Regions from separate parts of the Homo sapiens genome. Here all the other regions are linked to region 1. Evidence: promoter capture Hi-C in 16 types of primary human blood cells and fetal thymus (Javierre and others, 2016). All regions are on one chromosome and are shown on one strand. Each heading gives the region's core, a stretch centred on a gene start or on the middle of the fragment in contact. The rest is flanking DNA. Distances are from core to core; before and after follow the strand shown.

Region 1 (3,208 bases), core at 252-2,751:
TAGCCAGCCTAAGTAAGAGGATGGGCCAGGAGTGAGAACTCTCATCAGAGGGAATCACATGTACAAAGTCCTGAGGCAAAAGAGAATACTGCAAATATTCTCTTTTGGTAATTAAAACAAAACAAAACAAAAAATGTACCTCTGGCCAGGTGAGGTGGCTCACACCTGTAATCCCAGCACTTTGGAAGGCAAGGAAGAAGGATTGCCTGAGGCCAGGAGTTCAGGATCATCCTGGGCAACACAGGGAGACCTTGCCTTTACAAAAAAAAAAAAAAGAGAAAGAAAGAAAAAAGAAGTTAGCCACGTTGTGGTGATGCGTGCCTGTAGTCCTAGCTACTCAGGAGGCTGAGTTGGGGGGATCCCTTGAACCCAGGAGTTCAGGGCTGCAGTGAGCTATGATCGTGCGACTGCACTCTGGCCGGGGCACAGAGTGAGATCCTGTCTCTAGCAAAACAGAAAAAAAAGTACCTCAAATTGCAGGGTTTAAAGAAAGCTTATTTAAACTTTGAATATCAACCAAAGGAAATTTTTTCTTAACTCAAAGCTTAAAGATTTGCTTATTAATCTTCTGGAGGGTGGGAAGGTGGGAAGAGGAATCAGAGTTTTAGATTTCTGTTTCATCCCTGACCCCTTTGACCTTTTTTTTTTTTTATCATTCCTTTGTTCATTCATTTATTCAGATATATATACATTGGGCCTGTGCTAGGTGCCTACTAGATGGTGGTGAGTGAAACTGAAATAGTGCCTGCCCTCAGGGAGTTTATAGGTGAGATGGGTGAGCGTGGGAAAACCAATAAAACTGATAAATAAGTGTGTACTTATAAAGTGAGAAAATGGCTAAGAAGTGTGCTATGATGGAAAACAGACAGGAAACTGCAAGGAAGGTCTGTCCAATCAGACCAGCATATCCCTGCAAAGCGACCACAGTCACTGCAGGTGGGATGTGGGCGGTCTTACCAGGCAGTCCTGCCCGCGTGCACACACACGCACACCCTATTTTGCTGGGAATCCGCAAGTGGGGGTGAAGACCTCACCTCAAAACCACCCCTTTTCAACCTGCGTAGGAAAGGACAGTGAAAACGGATTTTCACTGCAGCCCCAAAACCGGAAATGAGAAGCAATCTCCAGAATAGTCCCACTTTTGGAAAGAACTTATTTGAGTAATTAATTCCCTTAGACAAGGGAGCTGCTAAAAACCAGCCCGATCCTGACATGTTCTAAGTGACATTTTCCAATCGCAAACACCCATTTTGGCGTTGGGTGGAGCAGTGAGGAGACTCCACGACACACGCCATTGCTTTCACAATGTGTACAAGAGGAACTGTATATAAGAAAGCAAAGAAATAAGGAGGCCTGGCGGGTGCGGTCAGGCCTTGCCTAGCTGCCGGGTCCCTCGGGCAGGAAAGACTCGTCCTCGCGGCCTGGAACCTTGTGTGTCCGGCTCTGGCTGCCCGGGCCGCCGGCGGAAGCATTTCAGAGTGGGACCGCGAGAAGCCGCTTGTAAACAGAGCCGGGCCGGGATGGTCAGCGCCCGGGCGGGCTGTCACCGTGAGGCGGGCGGCAGGCTGCGGGAGTCAAGCCCCTCCAGGAGCGGACTGAAGGCCCCGCAGGTGAATGGAGAGTAGCAGCCGGGGCCCAGGTGAGCATCCGTCTGCTTCTGTGCTGCCTGGCCGGCCAGTTTGGGGGATGGGGTGGGGACGACTGCATTGTAAATATCCGAGCAGCTCCCAGGGATAGCAGTGATTTTGCTGTTTCTTGCATGCTCAGGTTTTTATTACGTGCTGGAGATTGTACCACACTGCAATGGCTAATGGGTGAGGGGAGATTACATGATGCATTGTCTGCTTATTTTTGTGAATCAGGTATGTAATAGGAGGAGAAAGTAGTTGAAATAGTAGGTGATCTTGTTGAGTGCGTTATTAGTATCCCTGCCATCCCCGCCTGGGGATTATAAAACCAAACCCCAGCAGAGCTTTTAACCTACATCAGGCTGGGGCTTCCAGAAAACGATTGTTCTTTCTGTCGACTCTGTCCGTTTTTAATGTATAGTAAATGACACCACATGACTGATGACAAGCATGGTTTGGTCTTGTAGGAAAGAATTATTAAGCTAAAAAATCAAGATAAGAAAATCTCACACTCATCCCTTAAACAAAAATAAATTACTACTGAGATATATATTTGGATGACAAATTGAGACTGGTCTGGATGTATACCTTGCAAAGCAAGACAAATTTGAATTTACCAGGTTAAACTGAGATTGAGCCATGCTGTTGTAAACTTATTTAGAAGTTTATTTCTCTCTTCTTTTTTCTTCCTTGGAAGGGACCAGAGAGAAACAGCTGAATTTTTTTCTCTATATTTTAAGTAATCGTAGTGAGTTGTGATTTGTATTTATAAAGTATTTTATTATAAAATACTACATGTAAATTATAATTGGCATACTTAAAATACAAGGCAGTTTTTGACTGACTGACTTCAAGAAAATGCCTTAACAAAAGCTGGGCTATATATCTAGTCTCTAAAAATATCAGTAGACATTTGTAACCTTGGTCACATAGTCTTTTAGACAGGAGATGAATATTAGGTTAAATTGCACCTACAATAGATAGATATACATAGAAGAAATGATACTAATTCCTGATGAGTTTTTCTTTACAATGAATATTTTTACAATGTCATGGTTTATAGCAAAAACTATAAAGCCAGACTACTTCAGTTTGAATTCCTGCTTGGTCACTTCCTAGTTGTGTAATCTTGGGCAGTTTACTTAGCGCTTCTGTTTCCTAATCTGTAGAATGGGAATAATAATAGTATTGACCTCATTAGGGTTTTTATTATTGTTATTTTATTTTATTTTATTTTATTTTATTTTATTTTATTTTGAGACAGGGTCTTACTCTGTCATTCGGGCTGGAGTACAGTGGCGTGATCATGGCTCACTGCAGTCTCGACTTCCTGGACTCAAGCGATCCTTCCACCTCAGCCTCCCTTGTGGCTGGAACCATAGGCACAAGCCACCACGCCTGGCTAATTTTTGTACATTTGGTAGAGACAGGGTTTCGCCATGTTGCCCAGGCTGGTCTTGAACTCCTGAGCTCAAGGCTTAGAACCGTACCTGGCATATAGTAATTGCTATATACATGTTTGTTAATAAATATATAAAATAAAAATATGCCAGTGTTGAAAGTGGAATGGTGATTACCAG
Region 2 (3,208 bases), core at 305-2,804, 250 kb after region 1:
GGCCAGTCACATATGACATGAAATCCAAACAGACTGAACACATTCAGAGAAACCTGAGAGAACCCACTTTTCAACTCAGATAACTGTGATCATCAGCTCTCTCTCTGGTTTAGATTATAAGCTCACTATACAGAGACTTACAATTCTATAAATAATAATATTCACTTGTGACGAATGTTAAACCAAATAATAGTAGTAACATTACTGGCCACAAAGTTATATTTACAAAGGCTGCAGACTTGCACATCTGAGGGCGAGAACAGATAAGTCAAAGCCCCTACTTGCCCAGGGAAGCGTTACCTGGAGTTTCCCCAGGAGTATTTGGACTCTCTAATTTTCTCTCATTCAGTTTAAGTTTATCCAAAATCTTCTTTGACCCATTTCTTCATCTGTAAAATGAGGAGGTAAAAACCACAGGATCATCAAGATCCATTCCAGCATACATAGGTGACTGTGATTTTTCCCACCATTATCCCCGCTCATTACACTGTATATCGAAAGAATGAAATCGATGTGGCATTAATCTTTGCCCAAGTATTTAATAGCAGAGGTAAGATGGCACAGATATTTAAAATAAAACCACAATAGAGTTACAGCAAGAGGAATCCCTGCAAGTGAAGCATTGCCAATTACACACTGAGTGGCCCTAGGCGAGCTACTCAATCTCTTTATGCCTAGGTTTCCTCATCTGTAAAATCGGGAAAATAAAATAACCTATTATTACTGGGTGTTGTGAGGATTGAATGAGATAATGCATGAAGCATTTAGCTAGGGGCTTGGTACATAGAAAGCACTCCATAAATCTTTTATTGCCATCTGCAAATATGATTTTGGCAACCCTCAGGATGGCAGATTTTCTTTCACTAAGAGGTGAATCTGAGAAAAGTTGTTGTATTTTAAATATGTTGGTGTGTGGGCTTTGGGGTTTTTAAAAAAACTTTTAGGTTCGTGGGGTATGTGTGCAGGTTTGTTACATGGGTAAATTGTGTGTCACTGAGGTTTGGTGTATGAATTATCCCATCATGCAGAGAGTGAACATAGTACCAGAAATTAGCTGGGTGTGGTGGCAGGCACCTGTAATCCTAGCTACTTAGGAGGCTGAGGCAGGAGAATTGCTTAAACCTGAGAAGTGGAGGTGTCAGTGAGCAGAGAATGCGCCACTGCACTCCAGCCTGGGTGACAGAGTGAGACCCTGTCTCAAAAGAAGTTCCCTGGTCTCGAACTCCCGACCTCAGGTGATCCATCCGCCTTGGCCTCCCAAAATGCTGAGATTACAGGCATGAGCCACCATGCCTGGCCTGCCTCTTGCAGAATTAGTCTCTTGCAGAGACTATTTTTTTTTTAAAGCTTGGAACTAAATCTGTGACTAATTAGAATGGAGTGTTCCACCACCTTTAAGTCACCAACTAAAATCCACTGCTCCATGTCCCGGTGCGCACGAGGCCTTCTGGGTGACCAGCTCAAAGGAAAATTATTGTCTCAACTTAGGTCTCTGTGTGTAGGTACCCACAGAATGGAAATCGCTTTACTTGGGGAAGAACAAGAGGACAAGATGAGATAAAAAGGAAGCATGTTTAAATGGATAAAAGAAGGTACTTTTTTCCCCCACTACACACAATTGACCTGGGGAACTCACTGCAGCAGGATATTAAGATCAATGGTGAAGATTTGTGTTTTAAAGGATTAGACATTTCACATGCATATCATCAACAGTGAGGCTCAATAGGATAAAAGTACAGCGGATGAAAGTTCTCAAGCTTCAGTGTATAAGTTGATCACCAACTGGGTCAGGCAAAAAGAAAAAAGTTGTCTACCTGATTATCTAAGATGTCAAGGGACGGTGGGTTTGGGGGTATTTGGGCATTCCAGTTACCACTACTGTGTAACAAACCACTCCAAATTAGTGGTGTAAAACAAGAGCCATTTAATTATGCTCACGGATGCTGCAAATCAGGAAGCGGGAGAGGGCACAGTGGGGATGGCTAGTCTCTGCCCCATGCTATCTGGGGCCTCAGATGGGAAGACTTGAACGACAGGGAGTGGCTTGAGGCTGGGGGTAGAATCATCAGGGAGCTTCTTTAGTCATGTGCCTGACACCTGGCCTGGGATGACCCCGTCTCTACAAAGAAAACAAACATTAGCCGGGCGTGGTGGCGCATGCCTGTAGTTCCATCTACTCAGGAGGCTGGGGTGGGAGGATTGCTTGAGCCTGGGAGGTTGAGGCTACAGTGAGCCGTGGTCGTGCCACTGCACTCCAGCCTGAGAGACAGATTGAGACCCCGTCGCAAAGAAAAAAAGAAAAAGAAAAAATGGAAAAAAAAAAAAAAAAAAAAAAGGCCGGGCATGGTGGCTCACGCCTGTAATCCCAGCACTTTGGGAGGCTGAGGCAGGTGGATCACGAGATCAGGAGATCGAGACCATTCTGGCTAACACGGTGAAACCCTGTCTCTACTAAAAATACAAAAAATTAGCCTGGCGTGGTGGCCTGTAGTCCCAGCTACTCAGGAGGCTGAGGCGGGAGAATGGTGTGAACCCGGGAGGCGGAGCTTGCAGTGAGCTGAGGTCATGCCACTGCACTCCAGCCTGGGGACAGAGCGAGACTCCGTCTCAAAAAAAGAAAAAGAAAAAGAAAAAGAAATGGAAAAAAAAGAGGGGCAGGAGGGAGCAACATGGTCAACTGGACCAACTGTGTATTATGTCTTTGGGCTTGGACTGGAGTTCCTGCCTCCACTGAAGCACATGGCGGTGAAAAGAAGGGTAGATGCCTACAAATCAAAACACAAAAAAACCAACTGGGGTTCTGTTAGGAAACTGAAAGGAGAGATGACTCGGGCAGTAATCAACAGTGTTTGTAGCATGAAGCCTGGGGAAGGTTAAGGCTCTGTTTTCTTTGTGGGTATCACCCAACACTCTTGTTTTTTCTCTCTTGTGCTCTTTGCTCCTTTCCTCTGTCCTTTTGCATTAGTAATGAGTTGGATAAATCAAACACTGTATCAATAAATAAGTGTTTTAGGTAGAGTGTGTATATGAATTTAACTCATTAAAAAATACTTTGGCCGGACGTGGTGGCTTACACCCTGTAATCCCAGCACTCAGGGAGGCAGAGGTTGGGAGGACAGCTTGAGCCCAGAAATTTGAGACCTGCCTGGGCAATGTAGTGAGACCCTCTTCTCCACAAAAAGGGGGAAAAAAAAGACAAAAAGAATAC
Region 3 (3,208 bases), core at 350-2,849, 240 kb before region 1:
TAAGCCGAGATCACACCACTTCACTCCAGCCTGGGCGAGGGAGGGAGACCCCCGCCCGGTGGCTCACGCCTGTAATCCCAGCACCTTGGGAGGCCGAGGCGGGTGAATCGCCTGAGGTCAGGAATTCAAAACCAGCTTCGCTAACATGGTGAAACCCCGTCTCCCCTAAAAATACAAAAATTAGCCGAGTGTGGTGTCGCGCGCCTGCAATCTAGCTACTCAGGAGGCTGAGGCAGGAGAATCGCCTGAACCCTGGGAGGCGGAGGTTGCAGTCGGAGGAGATCGCGCCACTGCACTCCAACCTGGGGGACAGAGCGAGACTCTGTCTCTCAAAAAAAAAAAAAAAAAAAACTGGCAATGTAATAATTTAGGAAAGCTGAATATTGGAAATGTTAGCTTCTATCAACAAAGATTTCTTGTTCAATTTTTGACCAACACGCTTAAAGGAAAACCAGAGCAGGATCCAGAAAGCAGAAAAAGGGAGAACACAGGAAATTAGCCTTGCTCCACAGAAGAGATTTAACCTACACAATCTTTGTCACAAACACAAAAGAAAGAACATTTTTTGTAAGAAAACTGACAGAGTGGGAGTTTTGGAGTGCCAAAAAAGGGGCTCAAATAAATCAGAAATAAGTACATTATACCAAGCGACTACCTCTATTGTCAACACTGGACATATTTTACAACACAGGATGCACTGCGTCAATAGTAGATAATGAATCATGTATACACATCAGATACACACGAATAACTTGCTTTATACAGAATTCTAGCACTTCTTATATTTCTTGACTGTCTTAGGAATAACCTCTGATTGGGCAGAAAACCCCTAAGTCCTAAAAGTTTCCAACACATTCCATTCTCATCCTTTTGTTGGGAACATTCTAAGCAAAGGGTAAACACTAATTGGGAAATAATGCTCCTCCTCAAGAAACTCCAAAACCTAAGTTGAAATGGAATCGTCTCAAATAGCAGAGGCAAGCATTTAAAAAGACAAACACTTATTTGAACCCCCACGGTTGGTATCGTTTCTGCAGCTCATGAACTTTCTTTTCCAGCCTACGGATGCGCCTCTGACAAACTCAGAACTCATGCACTCAGAGGGAAAAGTAACTGTACTCTTCCCCTCCTAATTAAGTTCAGGCGTAAGGGTCGAGAGAGAGGCAAAGGAACTTCAAATGTTTCCAAGGAAATCTCAAGGGCCCCACCCGGCTTCCGTCCCCACTCGCCAGACAAGGCAGCCGGGGAATAGGGAGGACAAGCTAATTCTAAAGCCAGATTCTCTGCCCTTCCTTGCTCAGCCGGCAGCCAGGCCCTAGCCCCCGACTGCGGAGCCCTGGTTCTCACTTTCACCTCAGCTCTGGCCCTGGAGCTCCCCATACCGGCCTCCTTCCCATGCTGAGCCCCAGCCGGCCAAGCTCCAGGCCCCCTCCCTTACCTGCGCCTCCTGCCCCGGCCGCGCCGGCTGCCCCCCGCCCCAGCCTCCGCTTCAACGGCTCAGCCCCCGGAAGTCGGCCCCCGAGAGCGGCGGTGGGCTCCTCAGGCCGCGGACGGTTGCGGCAGGAAGCGAAGCTGCTTACATGGTTGATGCGGCTTCTCGCTTCCCCCCCCCAAGACTCCGCCCTCTGTTTTCCTGTCCCCCAGTCCGAAATCTTTCCCGGGGGCCGGCTCCTCCCAGCCCGGCCGACGCTCGGATCAGATGCTCAGGCAGAAGGAGTCCAGCCCAGATCGAGTCGTCCTGATCTTTTGGCCGAGATTAGGCCGCTTCAGCCTTCCTGGAAGAAGCCAGGGGGACTGCGCGCGTGAGCGTCACGCATGCGGGGTCAACGGATGGGTGCTTGGTGCTCTGGGCACTGCAGGGGTGCTGGCTGGACTGCGGTTACCGTATGTGTTCGATACTGTGGGCACTCATAATATGTTATTGCTTTGTTGTAGACAGTTCACTCGTGTAGCACTGAACCGGAGTTAGCGATGACTCTGTTTCCAGACTTGCATGACTCCACCAATAACCAGCCATATGATCTTAAGCAAATTGCTCATTTATTTAGGCCTTAGACCTCTGGTGTGTAAAGTCGGATTAATAAAAGGACTCACTTCTTAATACTTTTTTGAGATTAAGTAAATGCACTTAAAGCGAATGGCACAGTTCCCTGACCCAGAGTAAGTGATGTCGGCTTTATAGTTAATTTTTTCATTTAGGTGTTGTGTTGCAAATGCTGATGCAAATAAAGTTACCAAGCCCAAGCCCTATCTTGTTCAGCTTGGCTAGAGTTATTCGTCATTTCTGTCCTGCTGAGAGCGCAGTGCAGTTAACTGCAGAAAACATGCTCGCCGCAGTTGTGGGGCTTGGTAGGGGAGGATGGAAAGCAGACGAAACCTAAAGGGAAATGCAGTTTTAAATTCTGTGAGTCCTTTTCCTCAAGAGTTTTGTCAAATCCCAGCCCAGTTTTCCTGGAGTTGGAAAGCACCATCGAAACCTGCAGGTTGAGTCCAGTGCAAATCCCAGTCACCATCCTCAGCTGGGCCCTTCAGCAATCTTTCTGGGAGTCTGTAGTCAGCTTCTCCCATTCCTTATTACTGCTGCGTCAGACCACCACCACGACCCCCACATTACCTTGACCATCATTCTCATCAGAGAATCATATTTTATACCCACGTGAAAAATCCCAAGGTATCTGGGCGTGACCCTTAACAAGCTAATTCCCCACACACCACAACATTTACCTACATCCACATCTGCCCTGGTCTGCCTTTCTCCCTCATCTCTCTGAGGAAGGGGCCTCTTCTTCCCCAGCTCAATCCTTTTGGCCCCCAATTCACCCTCTCCTGTCTGGGAGCTTGCACCGTATCTGCAACCTCCCCTTTTCCAATGACTCTGCCTCCTCAGCCCATAAAGATGCTCAAGTCTCTGCCTTCCTTTAAAAAAATTTTTTTTAAAAATTTAAGATAAGCAAAAAAGGCCCTCGTAATTATCACCCTATGTTAATATTTCATAAACCTACAATAAAGTATGAAATAGGTACAGAGATCATATGAAAAGAATAAATTGCCCAGCCACGACGACTGCAGTGTATGTAGAAACTCCATCTATGGTTTAAAAAAAAAAAAAAAAAGTGCACTCCGCAAATATTTTTGAGTCCCTAATTTAACCTGCAGTGTGTTAGTTATAGAAGCACTACACTAAGGATAGAATTATGAACGTATCCCA

The links. The method cuts DNA at HindIII sites, captures the fragments that hold promoters and counts their contacts. A CHiCAGO score of 5 or more calls a contact.
Region 2: a fragment that was not itself captured here is called in contact with the fragment with the promoter of PLEKHM3 in region 1 in 1 of 17 cell types (erythroblasts); the score reaches 5.7 in erythroblasts.
Region 3: a contact is called between the fragment with the promoter of PIKFYVE here and the fragment with the promoter of PLEKHM3 in region 1, in 5 of 17 cell types (total CD4 T cells, total CD8 T cells, fetal thymus and 2 more). The highest score is 7.8, in total CD4 T cells.

Annotation. Positions count from the first base shown.
Region 1 is chr2:208,023,820-208,027,027 of GRCh38, reverse strand. PLEKHM3 (pleckstrin homology domain containing M3) reads left to right here and starts at 1,501. Exons shown (of 8, transcript NM_001080475.3): 1 at 1,501-1,639. The HindIII fragment of the contact is 3,995 bases long and covers 547-3,208 here.
Region 2 is chr2:207,778,632-207,781,839 of GRCh38, reverse strand. No RefSeq gene overlaps it. Among named protein-coding and RNA genes, the nearest start is that of FZD5, 10 kb to the right of the region's middle. The HindIII fragment of the contact is 410 bases long and covers 1,350-1,759 here.
Region 3 is chr2:208,264,646-208,267,853 of GRCh38, reverse strand. PIKFYVE (phosphoinositide kinase, FYVE-type zinc finger containing) reads right to left here and starts at 1,599. Exons shown (of 42, transcript NM_015040.4): 1 at 1,439-1,599. RefSeq lists a silencer at 1,313-1,582 and an enhancer at 1,713-1,762. The HindIII fragment of the contact is 8,601 bases long and covers 1-3,208 here.